6 separate regions of the Homo sapiens genome follow, and all the other regions are linked to region 2. Evidence: promoter capture Hi-C in 16 types of primary human blood cells and fetal thymus (Javierre and others, 2016). All regions are on one chromosome and are shown on one strand. Each heading gives the region's core, a stretch centred on a gene start or on the middle of the fragment in contact. The rest is flanking DNA. Distances are from core to core; before and after follow the strand shown. Region 1 overlaps LOC105374211 (a long non-coding RNA gene). Region 2 holds the start of SKIL (SKI like proto-oncogene). Region 3 has its middle 22 kb from the start of RPL22L1. Region 4 overlaps SEC62 (SEC62 preprotein translocation factor). Region 5 overlaps SAMD7 (sterile alpha motif domain containing 7). Region 6 overlaps LRRC31 (leucine rich repeat containing 31).

What was found. The method cuts DNA at HindIII sites, captures the fragments that hold promoters and counts their contacts. A CHiCAGO score of 5 or more calls a contact.
Region 1: a contact is called between a fragment that was not itself captured here and the fragment with the promoter of SKIL in region 2, in 4 of 17 cell types (endothelial precursors, erythroblasts, naive B cells and 1 more). The highest score is 7.8, in endothelial precursors.
Region 3: a contact is called between a fragment that was not itself captured here and the fragment with the promoter of SKIL in region 2, in 2 of 17 cell types (erythroblasts and endothelial precursors). The highest score is 5.6, in erythroblasts.
Region 4: a contact is called between a fragment that was not itself captured here and the fragment with the promoter of SKIL in region 2, in 1 of 17 cell types (neutrophils). The highest score is 6.1, in neutrophils.
Region 5: a contact is called between a fragment that was not itself captured here and the fragment with the promoter of SKIL in region 2, in 2 of 17 cell types (total B cells and neutrophils). The highest score is 8.3, in total B cells.
Region 6: a fragment that was not itself captured here is called in contact with the fragment with the promoter of SKIL in region 2 in 4 of 17 cell types (fetal thymus, neutrophils, activated CD4 T cells and 1 more); the score reaches 8.9 in fetal thymus.

Annotation. Positions count from the first base shown.
Region 1 is chr3:170,812,579-170,816,320 of GRCh38, reverse strand. All of the region lies in intron 2 of LOC105374211 (a long non-coding RNA gene), which reads right to left. Among named protein-coding and RNA genes, the nearest start is that of RPL22L1, 56 kb to the left of the region's middle. The HindIII fragment of the contact is 201 bases long and covers 1,870-2,070 here.
Region 2 is chr3:170,356,050-170,359,634 of GRCh38, reverse strand. SKIL (SKI like proto-oncogene) reads right to left here and starts at 1,920. Exons shown (of 7, transcript NM_005414.5): 1 at 1,872-1,920. RefSeq lists silencers at 1,338-1,407, 1,498-1,627, 1,678-1,907, 2,068-2,967 and an enhancer at 3,248-3,347. The HindIII fragment of the contact is 9,771 bases long and covers 372-3,585 here.
Region 3 is chr3:170,846,643-170,850,328 of GRCh38, reverse strand. No RefSeq gene overlaps it. Among named protein-coding and RNA genes, the nearest start is that of RPL22L1, 22 kb to the left of the region's middle. The HindIII fragment of the contact is 4,274 bases long and covers 1-3,686 here.
Region 4 is chr3:169,989,817-169,993,288 of GRCh38, reverse strand. It overlaps SEC62 (SEC62 preprotein translocation factor), which reads right to left. Exons shown (of 8, transcript NM_003262.4): 8 at 1-695. The coding sequence ends at 226. Among named protein-coding and RNA genes, the nearest start is that of SEC62, 25 kb to the right of the region's middle. The HindIII fragment of the contact is 6,807 bases long and covers 1-3,472 here.
Region 5 is chr3:169,935,807-169,939,271 of GRCh38, reverse strand. It overlaps SAMD7 (sterile alpha motif domain containing 7), which reads right to left. Exons shown (of 9, transcript NM_001304366.2): 8 at 2,823-2,933; 9 at 97-954. The coding sequence ends at 766. Among named protein-coding and RNA genes, the nearest start is that of SAMD7, 26 kb to the right of the region's middle. The HindIII fragment of the contact is 2,522 bases long and covers 259-2,780 here.
Region 6 is chr3:169,861,626-169,865,455 of GRCh38, reverse strand. LRRC31 (leucine rich repeat containing 31) reads left to right here. Exons shown (of 9, transcript NM_024727.4): 2 at 3,643-3,786. Among named protein-coding and RNA genes, the nearest start is that of LRRC31, 6.4 kb to the left of the region's middle. The HindIII fragment of the contact is 2,125 bases long and covers 1,364-3,488 here.

The DNA.
Region 1 (3,742 bases), core at 721-3,220, 460 kb before region 2:
TAGTTTGTAATGACTTGGAAAATGCTTTAGTAGAAATTTAGTAGAAATTATCTTTCTGCTGCTTTTTCATCTTCTGGACCTCTGAGCCCATGGTACTCAAAATGCAGTCCTCCCACTGGCCAGCAACATCAACTTCGAGCATGTGAGAAATGTAGAATCTCAGGCCCTAGCGCTGCTGAATCAGCATCAGCATTTGAGCACCATCCCCACGTGATTTACATCACATTAATATTTGTACCTATCTGAGTAAGGAGTCTCAAAGATTCAGTCCTCAGGCAACTTCTCAACTCTGAATACATCTGTGCCTTAAGTTAGTGATTCTGGTGGCATGTTAAGTTTGGTTAAGTTTGGCATGTTAATGGTGGCATTCTATTGCTCTGGGATGTGGCCATGGGGCATAGCACTTGTGTAAGTAACTCAGATGTTTCAAAAATACAGATGAGGTCAAGATCTACCATCTGTGTCAGTGGTGCCCAAACTTTTTGGCACCAGGGACTGGTTTCATGGAAGATAATTTTTCGATGGATGGAGAGGCAGATGGGGGATTGTTTCAGGATGAAACTGTCCCACCTCAGATCATGAGGCATTAGAGTCTCATAAGGAGCACACAACCTAGATCCCTCCCATGCACAGTTCACAGTAGAGCTCCTGCTCTATGAAAATCTAATGCCGCTGCTGATCTGACAGGAGGCGGAGCTCAGGTGGTAATATGAGCCACGGGAGTGACTGTAAACACAGATGAAGCTTGCCTGCCGCTCACCTCCTGCTGTGCCGTGTGGTTCCTAACAGGCCACAGACTGGTAAAAGTCCTCGGCCCGGGGGTTGGCGACCCCTGGTCTACATGATTTCCCCTGTGATACAGTTTTAAGCAGAAAATTCATGATACCAAGTTGTAGGTTCTATGTGTTATTAACTATGGAAAAATGCATACAGAAAAAGACTGGAAGAAAATATACCAAAATATTAATCATTATAAAAATTGAGCTGGGTCCAATGGCTCAGGCCTATAATCCCAGCACTTTGGAAGGCGAAGCAGGTGGATGGCTTGAGTCCAGGAATTCAAGACCAGGGCAACATGGCAAAACCCCATCTCTACAAAAAAAGTTAGCCAGATGTGGTGCTGTGTCTGTAGTCCCAGCTACTCGGGAAGCTGGGAGTTGGGAGGATTGCTTGAACCCAGGAGATTGAAGCTGCAGTGAGCTGTGATCACGCCACTTTACTCCAGCCTGGGCAAGAGAGTGAGGCCATCCAGAGAGAGAGAGAGGCAGAGAGAGAGAGAGAGACAGAGAGAGAGAGAGATGCATTCTTTTGAGGAGGAGTTGGTTTCTTCATATTTTTCTTTATAGTGGTCATAAATCTCAGGCCACAGACTCAGATGTGCAAGAGACATTAACTTTATTCTTTCATACGCCAACTTAATTTCTACTTAGTTCCTCAATCTGCTTGTGGTGAAAACTTTTCAGTCACTTCAGAGGGACCTCTGTCAAATCAAGTTTTGCTCAGTCAAGCTGCCACTAACCTATGGCATCATTGTGCAAATTAGAAAAAGATCCCCTTCCAGGAGGGTGCAGCCCCGCGCCAACACAAACTAGATTTCTGCCTACACCTGCTTCTTAAGCTAGGGGTCCCTGTGCAGTGAATAGTATGCATTTCTGTGTATGGTGGTTCTGGGGACAGCTAATGTAGGACCCCAATTCTTTATCCAGCATTGCAGGTAAATTCCAAGAAGCTTTCAGGTGGCACTGGACTGAATAGAGAGAGGCCACGGAGGGCATAAAGTCCCTGTAGCCTTCATCACTGACATTGTCCTTGCTAGTGTGCTCTGATTCCCATTAGGTCACCAAGGGAATTGGCTGAACAGACTAAGCTTTTTTGGGCTCGGCTCTCTCTCTAGACTTCTAAGCCCCTCTGGGAAATAACTGGCTGCTCCATGAGCCTCCGAGGGAACTCCATGAGATCACCTCAGCCTTGTCTGCCTGGATAGTCTTTGCAGCCATTCTTTAAGTTACATTTGGGGAAGCTGCATAATGGCTGCTGCCCTCCTGAACTTCAGTCACATGCCCCAAAGCTTCTATTCTTAGATATCTCAAACTTTCTTATGAGTTTTTTTTGCCACCTCTCCCTTCTCTAAGAATGGCTGGGGGCTAGAGGAGGAATGGGTAGGACATAAAGCCCTTCCTCAGTGCTATTCTTTTCTACGCAGGGGATCTGTTCCTCTGGGGTAGGCAAACTGCCTCTTGTATCATTTTGTACTCTTCCAGTCTATTGCTTATCCATGGGCTTCATGTCCTCCTCTAAGATTTACAAATCAAAACTTTGACTTAAGGCATTTCCTCTACTTTTCTCTAGTTTCACTCTTACCTGGCTTAGTGAGACGTAATGTTTTTGCAGGTGGTCTGATGTCTGTTATTAAAGGGAAATGCAAGGTTCACAGTGAGAACCCGACACTGGTTTTAGCTCATTCCTTGCAGGAAGCCTGATTTTTCTCACTCAATTTTGTTGGTCAAAATTTAATGAAGGCTGTAAAATCCAATGCAGGATGAGAAACACAACATTCATTCCTGGGTACTCATAGACATTCATGGAGACACTTAGGAGCATCACTTGGGTAGACAGGAGCACGTTCTTCTGCCTGACTACATCTTCCCTACTGAAATGCTGGTTTCGAGTTCACATACCCAGAGATCACTGAAAGCCAGGCACTGGGGAATGGCTAGTAGGGAGAATAGTACAGGGGAAAACACTTCACCCGTGGGTATTCACGAGCTTCCCCAGGAGTGTTTTTAGATCAGAAGACAACTGGTGAATTTCCAGGAACAGCTGCTTCAGTGCTGCCACATCCGTCAGCTCTCAACACGTGTTAGTGTCTGTCCTCCCTCCTTCTTTGGAATTTAGAACTGTGCCATGGTCTGGTTGCAGGAATCTCATTAAAGAGCTTCCCTTTCTGTATTAGTTTGCTAGGGCTGCCATTAACAAAATACCAGAGACTGGATGGCTTAAACAACAGAAATGTGTTTTCTCACAGTTCTGGAGGTTGGAAGTCCAAGATCATGGTGTGATCAGGTTGGTTTCTGGTAAGGCCTCTCTTCCTGTTCTTTGTAGACAGCCACTTTATTCCTGTGTCCTCACATAACCCTTTTTCTGTGAGCACGCAAGGAAAGAAATTTCTGGTGTCTCTTCTCCTTCCTATAAGAACCCCAGTCCTTCAGATTATAGACCAACCCTTAGGACCTCACTTAATCTTAATTACCTCCCTAAAGGCTTGAACTCCAAAAACAGTCACATTGGGAATTAGGAGTTTAACATCAGAATGGGCTTGGGGACTGGGAGAGTAGTTCAGTACTTTAACGCTTTCCCTGACAGAAAATTTTGTGATCACCTACTACATGTTGGGCCCTGTGCCACATGCTGGGGATAATAATTTATAAAAATGTTTCAACCCCTGCCTCAAGGAGCTCCTCCTCTGGGGACTGAGTCTGCAGCCATCAGAGGAGTGGGGTCACAATGAGATGTCTGGAAATGGACCTCTGTGGTAAGTGGGGATTCCTGCATGGCTTTTGCTATGATCGTATCTCAAGAAAGCAAATTCTGCAAATATTCTGAGTGGGTGGTAGTAGAGCTATTTTCTTGATGTGGCAGAGTCGCATACAAAAGCCCTTAAAGGGATCAATGAGACGAATTTCTGAGCTAGTCTGAAACAAGAACTGGGGATGAACTTTGGCAATTGGGCCAGAACTTAAAC
Region 2 (3,585 bases), core at 671-3,170:
CAATTTGAAACCAGTTTCTTTTATTTTTTTTTTTTTCTTTTTTTTACGGAGTCTCGCTCTGTCGCCCAGGCTGAAGTGCAGCGATCTCGGCATACTGCAACCTCCGCCTCCCGGGTTCAAGCAATTTTCCTGTCTCAGACTCCGGAGTAGCTGGGACTACAGGCACAAGCCACGACACCCGGCTAATTTTTTTGTATTTTTAGTAGAAACGGGGTTTCACCATATTAGTCAGGCTGGTCTTGAACTCCTGACCTCAGGTGATCCGCCCGCCCGGGCCTCCCAAAGTGCTGGAATTACAGGCGTGAGCCACCGCACCCGGCCGAAATCAGTTTCTTAATCTTAAACTGAGTTCAGTTTACCAAGGTGAAGCTTGAGTGATTTCTTTAAATCTAACACCAGTTTACTAGAAGAACATTCATTTAAATAGGAAAGCAATTTGGAGTTGCGTAAAGCGAGCAATAATATAACATAAAAGGCCTTTCGAGTTCAGAATATGAAGACTCTTAAGCAGATCATCTCAATTAGTAGTACCGGGGCTTTCTCAGCTATGCCATTTTAAGGGAGGGAAAAAAATCCATTACTTCATCTCCTATTTAAAAACAAAACAACAGTTTCATCCAAAAAAATCAGATAGGAGTTAACATATCTACCATATGTAACTAAGTTACAATTTTAAGTGGATTAATTCAGCTAGTCCGTGTACACTATTTTTCTGGAATGACTGCAGGCAAAAATTAACTTTCTCTTAAAAAAAGGTTAGCGATTTTACTTAATGGAAGCCAAAAGCTATAGACTCCACGCCTGGGAATCTCCATCCTTCAACAAGACTAATCCGGGACAAAAAGCACAAGGCAGACAAACCTCACAAAGAATGCAAATGGAGGAAGAGGGAAAAAGAAAAGACTCTTTTTCCACTTCCTTCTTGAGAGAAAAGCCAAAAGAAATCCAATAAATAGAAATTTTTGCTTCCCAAACTCTCAGCACTTTACCTTAAAACAGACCCAAAGGATTAAGGACCAATGCCACCAACCATCGTACAGACTTTCGTCCACCACAGGAACACACCTTACTCAACACAGGCCAAGGAAGAGAGCAAGAGGCATGACCTAGAATGGGGGAGCCCCTAAAACCCTGAAGTCCTCCGCCCACTCAAAGCCACCCACCTATCTCTAACCCGGAGAGAGGGAGAACAAGGGACACGGGAAGCCTGGGGGTGGGTGTGCAAGGGGGTGGAGGGAAGTAAAGGGAGGAGTCCCCCCACCCCCACCGGCGAGCCTGGGATAACCCCAAGTGCCCTCCCAACACCGCCCCCCCGCGGGGGCCGCGGGAAGGACTGTGGAAATCCACCCCCCCGCGCACCCTCTCCCTGGGAAGTTCTCGGGTGTCACCTCAGCGCCCCTAATGCTGCACCTCCCCGCGCCAGCCCCGGGCCAGAACGAAGAGGACACCAGGGCAGTTTAGGCGCCGGGCGCGGATCCCTGCGCCGCCGGGGGCTGACGGACCGGGTCGAGACCAGGGCATCCCCGCGGAGCGCTGCTGGACTGGGGGAGGGGGGCGGTGACGGGCGTCCGGGTCTCCGGGGTCCCCGCGGCTCCCGTCAACTACAGCGCCCTGCCCTGCCGGCGCCCACCGCCTGGGGCCAACGAAGCGTGATCAGCCGTGGAACACCCGCCTAGCGACCCCCTCTGGCCCCGACCCCACCCGGGACCCGCGCATCCAAACCCCCTACTCGGGCCTCGGTGCCCGGGTAAGCTCGACGAGCTTTGTGAATTCCCCACCGCCCCTGTCGCCGCCGTCGGGCTCCTAGGAGGGTGAGCGCCTCTGGCCTCCCGCCGCCTCCGCCGCGTCGCCGCCGTAAGCCGGAGCCGCACCTGTGCCCGCCGCCGCCGCCGTCGCCGCTCGCCCGCTCCCTTCGGCTGTGCCGGCGCGGCTCCGAACCCCACACACATCGCTACACACAGCCCTCTGACGTCACCGAGTCCTCGGCCCGCCCACGTCACTGCGGAGACACACAGCTTCCCGCAGACGCCGCCGCCGTCTCCGGCCGCCCGGGGGAGAGCGAGGGCGGCGGGGAGGGGGAGGGGAAGGGAACGGAGCCAGCGGCGGCGCCGCGCGCGCGGGCCCGCCGGCGTCGTCGCCGCCGCCGCCACTTCGCGGCTCCCGGCCCCCTCGTGGACGCGCGTGCCGTCTGGCCTATTGTGGCTCCTCAGAGCGCCCCCCTGGCCCCGTCGTCTCGCGCGCGTGCCCCTCCCCCCAGGCGCGCGCCCGGCGCTTCTGGCCCCGCGCGCCGTCTGGGAAGCTGGCGCGCGGCGCTGTCTGCGGTGCACCCGGCGCAGACAGGATGTTCCCTCCCCACCCCACCCTCACCGCCGCCCTCCCTCCTTCCTTCCTCTAGTCGCCCAGCCGGCTGTCTGGGGCCACCGCCCCGCCCCCGCCCCACCCGCCGCTCTGTGGTGATGGGCCAGACGCGGGGGCGCCCTGGCCGCTCGGACGCCGCGCAGCGGGGAAGAGGGGGCAGGGCAGCCGCGCGGTGCACTGTGCGCGACCCCAGCAGCCGGCAGGGCGGAGGCAGTGCCCGCCCGGCAGAGTGCCGCCGCCCGAGGTCAGGCACGGGCGACCCTCCCCCTGCGGGGCCGCAGCTGGGCCGCCCCGCCCCGGAGGCAGCCGGGCGGCGGCCGCCCTGCAGGGCCCCCGGGGCCGGCTCTGCTCCCCGCCCCCGCGGGACCTCCCTCCTGGGCTGCCCCTCGCCCCCGCGGGGCCTCCTGCCCGAGGGCCGCCCAGCCAGCTGCCGGCGCTCCGCCCCGCCCCGGCGGCCCCGGCCTCGCCCGGGCGGCCTCCACCCAGACGCCTTCCCCTGGCTGACCTCCATCCGCCATCGGGCCGGGCGGGAGGGGTGGCCAAAGTTCCGGCAAAACCGAGAGCAAACATTTCTGTCCCTACTCCCCAGCCTCCTGCCTCCACCCCACCAGGCTGCTCTCTCGGTTCCAGAAGGGAGCTATAAATTAAAGGTTTTTACAGTGTTTACTGAGGGTGTTTTTTTGTGTGTGTGTTTTTTTGGAGAGGGACGAGACGAGGTAGGGAAGATAGGACTCAAGAGCTTTCCGGCTGTGACCCTCTGAGGCGTGTAGGGTGGTCTTCCTGGTTCCCAGGGTAGCCGATTAGCATATTGAACTCTGCAGAGCTGCTCCGTCACATTTCGAAACACCAAGAAATCCCCTTTTCTCCACCCCACCACAAGATCAGGAACTGAAATAGTCCACCGAGTAGCAGTGCACAAAATTCAGGAGACTCGAGCTTTGTCCCTTTTTTCCCCCCCATTTTCGTCCAATTTCTTCTAGTTTTACTGCTTCGGGTTGTTCCTGTGGGGGCCCACATTTGCAGTCGGCCGGCTGGAAATACTCTTGTGCTCGTACTTTTTATTTTTTTTTTCCTCACAACAGGCCTCCGAAAGGCTCACAAGCCTCTCAATCCCCACCACTCCCCGCACCCCCACCCAAGTTCCCTTCCTTAGGCCTCCACCGCCGAGCTCCCAGGTCGTGCCCCCTCTCCACCCCGCCCCCCCACCTTTTCTTCCTTCTTGACTGC
Region 3 (3,686 bases), core at 699-3,198, 490 kb before region 2:
AAGCTGGAATTGGAACCACTTGCAATTGGTCTGATTCCACAGCCTGTTTTTTCCACTTCTTCAAAGCAGAAAGGTATGAGCAGGAGGAAATAGAGCTATAGTACATGGCATGAGTGGAAGGGTATGGGGAACATTGGAGGAAAAGTTTGAAAAATTAGAGTGGAGTGAGAGTAAGGAAGAAATTGAAACAGAGATGTGTATGTTGGGGAATGAAATGATGAAGGCTGAAAGTAACATGTAAAATATATTAGTTGAAAGAGACTGATGTCTGGTGTGGGGGAAACCCTAGGAAATCATCAAAGAAAATTAGCAAAGAGACTTGAATGGTTACCCAGGCAGGAGGAATTGAGGGTTTAGTCTTGAGATGAAGGAGTGGATGGATGCAAGAGAACCTGACTTCATTTGCTTAATTTTGCATATACGTATAGAGTGCTTGCCATGAGCCAACATGATGCTCAGGGCTAGGACTGCAGCAGTGAACAAGATAGACCCATGCTCTGCTGTCATTGAGCTTACAAAAAGTACTAACAGGATTTGATGATGAAATGGAGAGAGGGGTGAAAGAAAAATGGAGATAAAATAGACTATAATTTGAACCTGGAGGTCAGATTCTCAGAAGTGAGGACAATTCATATCTCTGATTTGATGTCATTGAGTTTGAGTTTTGAAATAGACATTTTCCTGCTGTATCTTCATAGAAGAAAGTTTTACATAAAAGAAAGGATGGGCAAGAACACTATGATGATTGTGTTTTCTTATCTATTTCTAAGAATTGTGATTTCTTACATGTCAGAGACTCTAACATTCTAGTTATAGAATCACTTCTCTTCAGTGGGGCTTGGTTTCCTCTATCGTAAAATATGTTGGCTGTCTTAAAATTCACCAGGGCCTAAACCTGGCTGCACGTTAAAGTCAGCTGGGGGATTAGAATCACCTGCACATTAGAATCTCCTGGGAGAGCTTTTACGTAATACCCAAGCCCAGGACTTACCCAGACCAGTTAAAAAAGAATTTATGTTGGTGGTTTCAGGCAGGGGTATTTTTGTTAACTTTCCCAGATGATTCTAATACTTAGCCAGGGTAGAGAACCACAAGTTGGATAATCTCTAATGTCCTTTCCACGTTTGAAGAGGCCATGATTTTCAAGGGCAGAAAATTAAACACTCTTAAGGTTACATTTTGTAGATTAATAGGGTGGGAATGAGCTTAGGGTGTGGGTGGTTATACGTAATAAAAATATATTTATATTCGTCTAATCCAAGGAAAAGAGATGCTCTTGAAAGAACTATAAAAATAAAAATAGCCGAGCATGATGGCTGATGCCTGTAATCCCAACACTTTGGCAGGTCAGGATGGGAAGATCACTCGAGCCCAAGAGTTTGAGACCAGCCTAGACAACATGGTGAAACCCTGTCTCTACAAAAGATACAAAATTAGCCTGGCATGGTGGTGCGTGCTTTAGTCCCAGCTACATGGGGGGCTGAGGTGGGAGGATCACTTGAGCCTAGGAGTTTGAGGCTGCAGTGAGCCATGATTGCACCACTGAACTCCAGCCTGAGCAACAGAGCAAGACCCCGTCTCTAAAATATAAAAATAAAAATACATTTACATTAGTTCAATCCAAGGAAAAGAGCAGCTCTTGAAGGAACTTTTAGATCCTATCTGGCTGCAAAAAAGGAGAAGCACAGAAACACATCCAGTATTTGTGTATGTGTGTGTATAAACTACATACACATATAATTATTATTAGCACTCATAGAAATATTGGATTAATTCCTAGCTGCATGATAGGCTGTAATGTGATATTTTTCCCATTAGATGGAGCTATATCTTTGTTAAGGAGACTTCTTATAACTTTCTAAAAGGGATATTTTATAGATGATGAATTTTCCAGTGAAACAGGAAAGAACCATTATTAAAATGCATGATATAAATTGTTTCTAAAATAGCCATGTTATTTCTAACTCTTTAAATATCTTGAGTTGTTCATCTGTTTGGCTTTGCACAGGCTTTATATCTCACATACTGTGTGGACATAAACATACTTAATAAAACTTTGTTTTCTGTATTTCCCTTCAAAAAGGCCCAAATCAAACTCAACTCCTGGAATAGTAGCTCTTAATAGTATTTCAATTAGGATATTTTTAAATACGAGTCTACAATCTTTTATTTGCAGTTTCAAATTAAAAGAGGCACATTTCATAAATTAAAAAAAACAGACATTCAGTTAAACTTGAATTCTACTTAAACATTTTGTGTGCATGTGTGTGTGTGTGTTTTGTAGAGACAGGGTCTCCCTATTTTTCCCAGGTTCATCTTGAACTCCTGGCCTCAAGTGATCCTCCCACCTCAGCTTCCTAAAGCCCTAGAATTACAAGCGTGAGCCACCACACCTGGCCTGAATATGTATTTTTTTTTTTTTTTTAGTATAAGTGTGTTTCATGCAATGTTTGGGGCATATACTAAAAAATTACTTGTTCCTACACCACCACCACCACCACCACCACAAAAAACAAAAGCAACCACAACGATAAAAATTATTTGTTGTTTATCTGAAATTCAAATTTAACTGAGCAGTCTGTATTTTATCTTGCAACCCTATCTAAAAACCTAAGATTTTTGTAACTATTTTATGGCAAAATGTAACCTAGAGGTGAGGCTATTTATCGTCTTTACTTTGTGTGAATGTTTATATGTATTACTGTACATTATATGTATTAATGTTTTCAGTAATGGGTACTGCTCCAGATTCCACTGGGAATGTTACATAATCCCTGATATTTGTACCGTATTATCTTTTTAGAATAAAAAAGCAAGGAATTCCAAAATATATTTGTCTCCAATACTTTTGGAAAAGAGATTGTGGGCCTATAATAAATTTCTACCTTTGTAAGCAAGAAAAATAAATATGCAAGAAGTTATTTCCGAGAGTGCTGTAAGAAATTTTTAAAATTTCAAAATTACTTCATTATCATTAGTAGGACTGGAAATAACCATCTATTTCTTTTTTAAAAGAGTCTCTTACACATGGACATGGGGGGGTAACATCACACACCAGGGCCTGTCAGAGAGTGGGAGGCAAGGAGAGGGAGAGCATTAGGACAAATACCTAATGCATGCGGGGCTTAAAACCTAGGTGATGGGTTGATAGGTGCAGCAAACCACTATGACACATGTATAACTATGTAACAAACCTGCATGTTCTGCACATGTATTCCAGAACTGAAAGTTAAAAAAAAGAAAATGAGTCTCTTAATTTTTGCTGTCTTCAAAGAAGTCAGGGAAAGAATAAGGGAGACAAGGAACCTACAGTCCAAACTGAAAGAACTAAAGGAGAAACCATCGTCCTCCTCAAAAGGAAAGTCACCACAGACCCCAAAAGATAGGTGGCCATTTTTTCTTTCCTTCAAGCCAAACAAACCCTGAGAAAGAAGACTCCCCAAATGTCTTCACATTATATCCCAGAATGTTGTTACTTTGCTACCTAGGAAGTGCTTTTTTTTTTTTTTTTTTTTTTTTTTTTTTTTGAGACAGTCTCACTCTGTCACCTAGGCTGGAGTGTAGTGGTGCAAGCTCAGCTCACTGCAACCTCCGCCTCCCAGGTTCAAGGGATTCTCCTGCCTCAGCCTCCCAAGTAGCTGGGATTACAGGTGCCTGCCACCACGCCTGGCTAATTTTGCATTTTT
Region 4 (3,472 bases), core at 200-2,699, 370 kb after region 2:
TAAAATTATCAAATGGATAAAACATATTAATGGCTTTAAACTGTACCAATAATAGTGCCAATATTCTATAAAATGAAGGACCGAATATAACTGCTTGAATGTCAAATACATTTCAGTAGATAGATTTAAAGAATGCTACAAATGCCATGTGTTCAATATGGTAATCAGCCAACATAGAAAATCCAACCTCTTGTACTTATTCATTCAGTCCCAAAATTAGTCAGATTATGATTTTTCATGTGAAGATTTAGGTGTTTCTCCATCATTTTCCTCTTCCTCATCCTCTTCACAATCCCCATCTGTTTGCTGTTCCAGTTCCTCTTTTGTTATCATTTCAAAATCATTTCCATTTCCACTACTGTGCTGGGATCGATCATCTTCCCTCCTGTCACTGTCCGTGTCTGAATGCCGTTCTCCCCCCGAGCCTTCTGTTCCATGATTTCCTGGTCCTACTTTCCCCTCCTCATCTTCCTTTTTCTCACTGTCTGACTTTTCCTCACTGTCGGACTTCTGTTGCTTTTTGGTTTCAGACTTCTCATCTTTCTTTAAGTCTGCTTTTGGTCCTTTGTATTCATGTGTGTACAGAGGCCTGAAGGAGTCAATGAAGCCCACATCAGCAGTCAGATTTGGCAAGAACCAAAAGTGGTGCCTTCCTCCAGTTATGAGCCAAATGATGAGAAATAGAATGCATCGAGCTGTGGGGAGAAAAATTTCTCTAATTGAGTAATTCAAACACTGCCTCAGAAGGGAGTATTTGTTAATAAAAAGCTGGGAAAACAGTTTTATTATCTGCACATTTCATACACCTTAAATATTAATATTTAAATCCTGATTAGTGCTGGGCGTGGTGGCTAAACCTCTAATCCAAGCTACTTGGGAGGATCACTTGAGCCCAGGAGCTCGAGGCTGCAGTGAGCTATAATTACACCACTGCATGCCTGAAAACAAAAAATTCCTGACTAGTTTAGCAGCTATCACGGTATTCTAGGGGCACAGAATGTTGCTCTGAACTTGAGGTCACAATGCAATAATGTCACTGAAAAAAATTACTTCTTTTTTCCATCTGGGTGTACACTTACATGGATATACACTTCTGATTTATGTACTTTGTGATATTATGCTTCAATACACATAGCAATCAGTTGGGAATTTAAGTATTCATAAGATCATGGTGTAGGAAAAGAATAAAATAAAGAGATGAAAGGTGTTTAGGAAGGAAGCCTTTAAGAAGGAAAAGCAGGGCTGCATCATACTTCCCAAGGCCCTAGGCCCTTTTGCCTTTGTAAGGCACTTACTCCACAAAAACTATTAAATATTATATTTTCTATACATTTATGACTATATTTTCTGTACATCTGTATAAACACGAATAAAATACTGTATAGGTTTGCTATTACATACATGTATATACATTACTACTTCTGATTTAAAAGAAATAAAAATGAAAATATTTCTGTGGACCCCTATATGTATCTTGGTCCAAGGCACACGTTTACTATGCCTAAAGGATAAATTAGCCCTGGATAAGGAACCCCAGTATTAGAAAGTTTCCATCTTTTAATCCTTGTTTTCTTATTTATTTATTGAGGACAAGGTCTTGCTCTGTCACCCAGGCTGGAGTGCAGTGGCACAATCATGACTCGCTGCAGCCTCAACCTCCTGGGCTCAAGCAATCCTCCCACCTCAGCCTCCAAGTAGCAGGTACGTGCCACCATGCTCCGCTAATTTTTGTATTTTTTGTAGAGATGGGGTCTTGCCAAGTTGCCCAGTCTGGTCTTGAACTCCTGGGCTCAAACTCCCAAAGTGCAGGGATTACAGGTCTATATCTATCATTTATTTATCTAATCTCTCTCTCTCTATCTATCCTCCCTCTCTCTCTACCTATCTACCTACTTTGATAGACAGGTTCTTGCTATGTTGTCCAGGCCAGTCTTAAACTCCTGGCTTTATGTGATCCTCTCACCTCAGCCTCCCGAGTAGTTGGGATCGCAGTTGTGAGTCACTGAACCTGACCTTTTTGTTTTATTAGTTAGGTAAACTATGTAATTTTTGCTTAAAGACCAATCCTCTCAATATTAGGAAAAATACAATGTTAATGAAAGCAAGATCACTTAAATACATAAGGTTTACTCTTTTATAACACTGTATTATGAAAAAACTGTAGAAAAATGGAATTTGAATTTTAAAATTTGTAGTAATGAGTTATCACAAACCCCAATATTTAGTTTTCTCTGAATTTACCAATTATGTAGAGCTGAGTGATTTTTTCCTGTTTTTTAAAAGGTCATGATGATTATGTGAATGTTACAGACTAATCAATTATGACAGGAGTTTTGGTTTTTGTTTTCTTTAGACAATTCTGTCACTGTTTTCATATAAAGCCTGAAATAAGCTAATCTATGTGTCTTCCATTATTTTGCTTTGTATAAATGGAAGAAAATCGTTATAGCTGTCTTGACTTTTAAAAATAGCAATTTTTATTTTCACAAGAATATAAATATTCTGAAAGACTCCTGTACACATTAGAATCTTTCGTGGTATAAACGGAAAAGGTAAATATGCTTAAAATTATGATTTAAGAATAAATTCCACTGATAAACAGAGATAATGAATTTAAGGAGGCTGTACATTTTTTTCTCCAATTATGATGCAATGATAGGTTTTACAGGATTGTAAGACAGATGATTCATAATATGAAATCTTGTATCAAACCAAAGAAAAAGCAATATAGAAATGGCACTAACCTAATTTCTTATCACATACAAATGGTATGGCAAAATGTTCATGTTTTACAGTTTTTCGCTATGTGGCACTAGATTACCGAGAGTGAAAAGGGAAGAATTATGGGGAAGCTGTGACATGTACTATAATAACATTCCTATGCTAAAAGCGACAGATTTTAGAAAACTGCCAAAGGTTTTATTTTAAATGGCATTATTAATAATGCATATTCAAAGAAACACCAGATATAATTGTGACCAATACATAATATTTCAAGACCCTGACTTTAAAAAAAAAAATTAGCTAGGCATGGCAACATGCTCCTATAGTCCCAGCTATTCAGGAGGCTAAGGTGGGAGGGCTGCTTGAGCCCAGGAGTTTGAGGGTACAGTGAGCTATGATTCTGCCATGGTACTTTACCCTGGGCAACAGAGCAAGACCCTGTCTCCAAAAAATGAATATATATAAAAATATATTTCATATAAATATGAGATATCATATAATATATATGACATATCATATGATATATATTATATGATATATATGATATATAATATTATGATATATCATATATCTATATATCATATATATTCATATATAATATACATGATATATATTATATGCGATATACATAATATATATAAAGACTTCAAAGAATAATATAAAAGAAATATCTAATTATTTGAAAGTATATTTGGAATTGCATTTTCTAAGAGAATCAAAATAAAATGTTGGGTTTGTTTCCTGGTAT
Region 5 (3,465 bases), core at 270-2,769, 420 kb after region 2:
CTCACTGTAGCCTCCGCTTCCCAGGTTCAAGCAATTCTCCTGCTTCAGCCTCCCGAGTAGCTGGGACTACATTCGCGCACCACCAGGCCTAGCTAATTTTTTTTTGTATTTTTAGTAGAGACGGGGTTTCACCATGTTGGCCAAGCTGGTCTTAATCTCCTGACCTCATGATCCGCCCGCCTCAGACTCCCAAAGTGTTGGGATTACAGCCGTGAGCCACCGCGCCTGGCCAAAACTCGAAAATTTAAGGTTAAAGCTTCTCACCTTCCCTAGCTTGGGCCTGCTTCACGCTGGAAATCTGGAATGAGAAGAGATGGAGTCGTGGTCAGCTTCTCCATTTCTGTTCTGTACTTCTGCCCGTTCTCTTCTGCCTCTCTGTGGTTTCATTGGGTTGCCTTTATCTCTTTCAGGGTTTGGGAATGGAAAATGAGTGAAAAAAGGGAGGGAGCTCTTTTTTCAGTTTCAGCTCTTTTGGTTTCTTCAGAGATTTCTTCATGGAAACATCCATCTGCAGCTTTCTTGATGTTTGTAAATCTCCCCTTCATTAGCATTTGCTCCTAAGGATGCGTCTCCAGTCATTTGGTGCTGGGGTCATTCAGCCCTGGCAGGGAAGCCCCTTGGGCAAGTCTCCTCCATGAAAGCCCCAGAAAGGCTGACTTTCTCTTCTCATTCTCCATCCAGTACTGGGAAATCCTCACACATCCTTTGTAATATCCTAGGCTCTTTGGAAAACTGGCTAAGACTATTCTTCCTCCTTGAGGGCTTTTAGTTTCTCATACTACCTCGCTCAATTCCTTTAGGAATTATTGTATCCTGGGGACAAAAAATGTTCATTGTATCACTCCAGGAATTAGGATCCAGAAGAGGGGATGTATCTGCTGGTTGATCAAATGCTTGTCTTATAGGAAATGAAAGAGTTTTCTTGTAGAACATACTTCCCACATGCTGAGATACCTTTTAAGACAAAATAATTATAGTAATCAATTCTATGAATTTTTTTCATTAACTCAGCATTAAACACACATCACAGAGAGGCTGAGGTAATTTCAGGCATGGAGCATCTATTAACATATAGTTGTGGGGGTCACAATTGTAGGATGTGGTGGGCTTTTTCTTTCTCTCAGAATTATAGTGTTTACAGATGTAAAACAGGGTATCAAGGTGGCTCTAACCAGGGGCAGCTGAGCAATAGTGGAATTACTGAGGGGGAGAAAAGTAGATGGTGAGGTCAGGACGGTAATGGTGGTGGCATGTTAGGAGGAGCACAAATGACATAGGTCTTTGGCTTTGGCTCTGAAGGCAATGGGGAGCTATTGTAGAATCTTGAGCAGAAGACTGACACAATCCATCTTACATATTAAAAGGACCACTTTTACTGTTTTGTGAATCAACTCTGGGTGGGCAAGGGCAGAAGCAGGGAGAGCAGTTAGAAGGCCAATGCATGATTTCTGAAAGATTTAGAACCAGAAATACCATTTGACCCAGCAATCCCATTACTGGCTATTTACCCAAAGGAATATAAATCATTCTATTACAAAGATAAATGCACACATATGTTCATTGCAGCACTATTCACAATAGCAAAGACATGGAATCAACCCAAATGCCCATCAGTGATAGACTGGATAAAGAAAATGTGGTACATATACACCATGGAATACTATGCAGCCATAAAAAGGAACGAGATCATGTCCTTTGCAGGGACATGGATGGAGCTGGAAGCCATTATCCTCAGCAAACTAATGCAGGAACAGAAAACCAAACACCGCATGTTCTCACTTATAAGTGGGAGCTGAATAATGAGAACACATGGACATAGGGAGGGGAACAACACACACTGAGGCCTGTCAGGGGTTGGGATGGGGGGAGGGAGAGCATCAGGATAAATAGCTAATGCATGCTGGGCTTAATACCTAGGTGATGGGTTGATAGGTGCAGCAAACCACCATGGCACATGTTTACCTGTGCAACAAACCTGCACATGTACCCCATAACTTAAAATAAAAATTAAAATTAAAAAAAAAGAAGGCCAATACAGTCATCCAATGAGAGATGATGGTGCCTGAGACCAGGATGGAGTGGTGGAGGTAGTGAGAAGTGGCGTGCTGGGGTTGGCTAACTCACAAGAGCCAATTATTCAATGTTTAGGAAGTTTGCAAGCCAGTTGTTAAATACATCATTATTAAAAATTAAGTCAAAGCATCATATTAAATAAATTATGTACAACAAAAGTAATATATGCTTAAGGCTCATCACTTTTTAATTGTTTTTACCTAATTATTTTACTATTATTATTACTTCTGCTCTTGACGTTATTCACACCTATTATATTTGAGATTGTATCTGGTAGAAATACTCTAAAGTGGGGTGCTGCTATGCATCTTTTCCCATTTCAGGATAGTCACCCCCAAGTGTCATGGGCCCGGAGCGAGGAGGGCAGCACTCCCGAGTGGGATGATGATTTCTCGGAGGATGACAGTATTCAGTGACATTAGGAGTTTCTCAGCCACGGTGGGAGTAATTTACACCACAGAAATTGGAGATATTACAAATTGGGGCTCATTTTTTTTCAAAGAGAACTACTTGTTAAACATTTACCAGTGCATCCTTGCTTATCATCTTCCCAGTTATATCTAGGAATGTGTACCACCATCCCATCCAATGTTTTCAGGGTCCCTCACTTCTATTATGTCCTCAACCACAGAGGGAAAGCAATAAAGAAGTTAAATAAGTATTATTTATATTACAACAAGATAAAAGTAACATATTTGTATTAAGCTTTGTGCCATTAATACATAATTAGTTATATAAAATCACCATACCTGTGACTGAATTTTTAGTGCCGGCCCTAGCTTTAATCCCATAGTGCCTCGAAGATGCTCTTCTGTGAGTAATGGCAAAGTTTCTCCATCAATTGCATGATCTTTAAATACCTTCATAAATACAAAAGGTGTTAACTCTGTCTGAATGTCTTTTTTTGAAAAAGTTCTTTTACCACCTAGATATTTTAGTTTTGGAGAAAACATTAAGACTGCTTGAGGATGACAAAAAAATTTGTAAAACCTTTTTTTAGTTGCTCTCTTTTCTGTGCTCAGTAGCATATTGCTTGTGCTCTTTAATAACCTTTGTAATCGACTGTAATTCTCTGTTTATAGAACTCAATTCCAACCAGGAATAGTGATTATTTGAGGGCCAGGTCAGTGTTTTTTTGACCAATGTACCCCTAATACAGAGGCTGGCATATGGTAAGAAGATGTACAATAAATATTGCTGGATAAATGAATGAATGAGTAAATGCTGTAAGTAAAGGGATGTGGGTAAAACCTGTTATGGATAAATTTCATGTCTCACATTTACAGATGTGGTATCTGCTGGCCATGCCTTAGATGCTTGGTAAAGGGAGGGGAGGGAAATGCTGCTGAGAACTTTCCCTACCGGACCTTTCCAGCAGGTCTGTTAGTCCTG
Region 6 (3,830 bases), core at 1,177-3,676, 490 kb after region 2:
TTGTTCAGAGCTAACACAGCTAGGAAAAGGCCTCAATCTCCACAGAGCGGCTCCTGTGTGGTTACTAATGCGCCCCCCATGGGTGCCTCCCACCCCACTCCAGCCTAGCTGTAGCAGCCCTGACTCACTTGTTCTACACACTGAGCTGTGACATAAGGTATCCTGTGAAGAGAAGGCTTCATATAATTTTTCTTTTTTTTTTTTTTGAGATAGAGCCTTACTCTGTCGCCCAGGCTGGACTACAGTGGCGCAATCTCGGCTCACTGCAACTCCACCTCCCGGGTTCAAGAGATTCTTGTGCCTCAGCCCCCTACTAGCTGGGACTACAGGCACCCGCCACTACACTGGGCTAATTTGGTTTCATAGGTTTTTTTTTTTTTGAGATGGAGTCTTGCTCTGTTGCCCAGGCTGGAGTGCAGTGGGACAATCTCGGCTCACGCAACCTCTGCCTTCTGGGTTCAAGCAATTCTCCTGCCTCAGCCTCCCAAGTAGCTGGGATTACAGGTGCATGCCAGTACGCCTGGCAAATTTTTGTATTTTTAATAGAGACGGTGTTTTGCCATGTTGGCCAGCCTGGTTTTGAACTCCTGACCTCAGGTGATCCACCTGCCTCAGCCTTCCTAAGTGCTGGGATCACAGGCATGAGCCACTGCACCTGGCCGGTTTCACAGATTTTTTAAAAATTGAAATACATGATCTGTGAGGAGATGTCCAGGGGTCTCATAAGTTAGTACTCACATTTATATTTAAGTGTTTTGATAAAGATTTATCATGATGATTTATTTTGGTAATTGAGGAACTGTAAAACCAATATTCATTCATTCAATTGTTTGCTCATTTAACAAATATTTACCAAATACCTCTCAGGTAAAAGGCCCTGCAGATTACCATGTGCATAGGAGGTTCCAGTAAGTTTAAATCACGATGCTCTTGAGAAATGAACCAGGCATTTCATAGATGAGTAAACCAAGGCTCAGAGAGGTTGAGTGACTTGTTCCTCAGACAGACCTGTGATTTGGATCAGGTCTTTTGACTGTACTGCTTACTTGTCAGTCACATCAAACATGACAGAGCACCCAGTGGGATGTGGACTGAGAAGAGATTTCTGCGTCTGTCAGTTTGTAGGTTATTGTTGGTGACCTTTGAGAAACAATGTATTTGGATAGAGGAGTGTAGCAACCAGAAGGTAGAGGGTTAGCTTGTAAATGTGGGGAAGGAGTTGGGCCAGCAAGTGGAAACCACTCTTTCCAAACATTTGACAGTAAAGGAAATGCTTGACAGAGCAGTGTCTTGAGGAGAAAACAGAAGAGTGGGTTTGGTGGGGCTGGAACTTGAGGATGATTGTAGGTCGAGATAAAAAGCTTAAAAACAAAAGAGAGACAGCAATAAGATGCAATGCAGAGAAATTTTTTAAAATACAAAAATAACACACACACACACACACACACACACACTAGGCTTTGGAACAAACTATTCTGGGTTCAAATTCAGGCTCTGCTTCTTCCTAATTAATCGTGTCTCTAAGTTTCCAAATCTATGAAATGGTTTGTGACTCGTTTAGACAAAATGTCCTGTACTTGCTGGCACCTAAGAGGCAGTCCCTCCCTGTCTCCCATCCACAATTCTGCTCTGCCCCACCCAAAATTAGGGTTGCCAGAGAAAATACATGCAACAGTTGAGGCATACAATAAAACAATTCCTTGTCGATTTAAAATTTAAATTTAACTGGGCACCCTGTTGTTGTTTTTCCTAAATCTGGCAACTCTACCCAAAATTAAATGCCTTGTGTCCAATGTGCCATAAAAACGGAAGGCGAGAGTGAAAGGTTAAATGGTGGATGCTGCTGCCTCCTACTGGTGAAATGTGGTAACACCAAGCATCCCAACAAGGACGCGTATCCTACGTGTGGTTTTCTTAGACCAAACAGGAAGCCACAAGACTGCTGTGGATTACAGGTGTAGTTTTTATTATCCTGCTAATCATTTGGTCTAAATTTATTACTACTGCAAACCTACTATCTTTTAATTTTCACAGGTACCAATGTATTTCTTCTTAGCTATGTTGTCTTACACCTTTTTGTCAGGGTTAATAAAATATTACTGCTCATTCCAGAACTTATTATTTCCTATTGGATTTCAATATACATAATCTATATGTTTAAAATTGTATATTTCACTTACAAAATCACTTTAAAATCACTGTCAGTACATGTATATTCATTTTTCCTTAGAAAAGTATGATGTGTTTTATGTATGTCTTAAATGCTGGCACCTGGCCTGCCATGGTGACTCATGCCTGTAATCCCAGCACTTTGGGAGGCCGGGTAGGTGGATCACCTGAGGTCAGGAGTTCGAGACCAGCCTGGCCAACATGGCGAACCCCTCATCTCTACTAAAAATACAAAAATTAGCCGGGCGTGGTGGCAGGCGCTTGTAGTCCCAGCTACTCGGGAGGCTGAGGCAGGAGAATTGCTTGAACCTGGGAGGTGGAGGTTGCAGTGAGCTGAGACTGTGCCACTGCACTCTAACCTGGGTGACAGAGTGAGACTCCATCCCCCCCAACAAAAAAAAAAAGAAAGAAAAAAGAAATGCTGGCACCTGCAAGTAGGCAAAGAACGAGTACATAACAGGTGCTCAATAAAATGATAGCTTTTATTATTATAGTGCTATCTTTTTTATTTATTTATTTATTTTTTTTAGATGCAGTTTCTCTCTGTTGCCAGGCTGGTGTGAAGTGGCACAATCTCAGCTTACTGCAATCTCTGCCTCCTGGGTTCAAGATATTCCCCTGCCTCAGCCTCCTGAGTAGCTGGGACTACAGGTGTGCACCACCACGCCCGGCTAATTTTTTGTATTTTAGTAGAGACAGCATTTCACCATGTTGGCCAGGATGGTGTTGATCTCCTGACCTCATGATCCACCCGCCTCAGCCTTCCAAAGTACTAGGATTACAGGTGTGAGGCACCGTGCCCAGCCACTAGCATGTTATTACAGTGTTATTACAGAGGAAGCTAGTGAGGGTGCCACAGTAGTCCCTAATAACAAGGAGGACAGACGAGGCTTTCCAAATTCACTTTCTGGCAGGAGTTGAGAAAAAGCAAAAGCTCTCCCAGGCCTAGTTTCTCTGGATTTGTGTTTGCCAATTGAATGGTCTAGAAACTGACCGGCAAGAATTCCACTTACTCCGTGTGGCCATTTGCAGCTCCTTGATGGTGATTTCAACGCTTTCCCTTCTTCACCTGTTTGGTTTGAGGAGGCAAGTATCTCTGCTTCCTCCCTAGCAGTTGCATCCACCAAAGATATGCGTGCCCTTCAAGTAAGCAAGCATCTCAAAAGCCGGGCTGACAGGTTTACTTCTCACCCAGGAATGCAGCTCTGTCTTCATGCTGAGAAGCCCAGGTCAGGTCATGATAGAAAAGCCACTGCGTTCCTCAGGCTCCTGAAGCAGTGTCTGGGCACCTGGCGGCAGGAACAGTGGTTAGTTAAGCTTTGTCCCTAGTAAATGGCTCTGCCTCTGAGTTGAGGTTTTTATAAAAGAGCAATTCAGAGTTATGCAGTCTTTTCACTTGTCTGATTGTGGTCATTATGCATCTTTAATACATCCATCATTAACAGCAAATTCTTTTTTATGCTTATCACACAGCTAAGCCTCTCAGTTCAGAAATGGAATGGAGATCCAGTATGGAGAAAAATGAGCATTTCCTGCAGAAGCTGGGCAAAAAGGCTGTCAACAAGTGTCTAGATTTGAATAACTGTGGATTAACAACAGCGGACATGAAAGAAATGGGTCTGTATGCAGCAGACTTTGCATAGAGGAAGATAGGGCCTTTC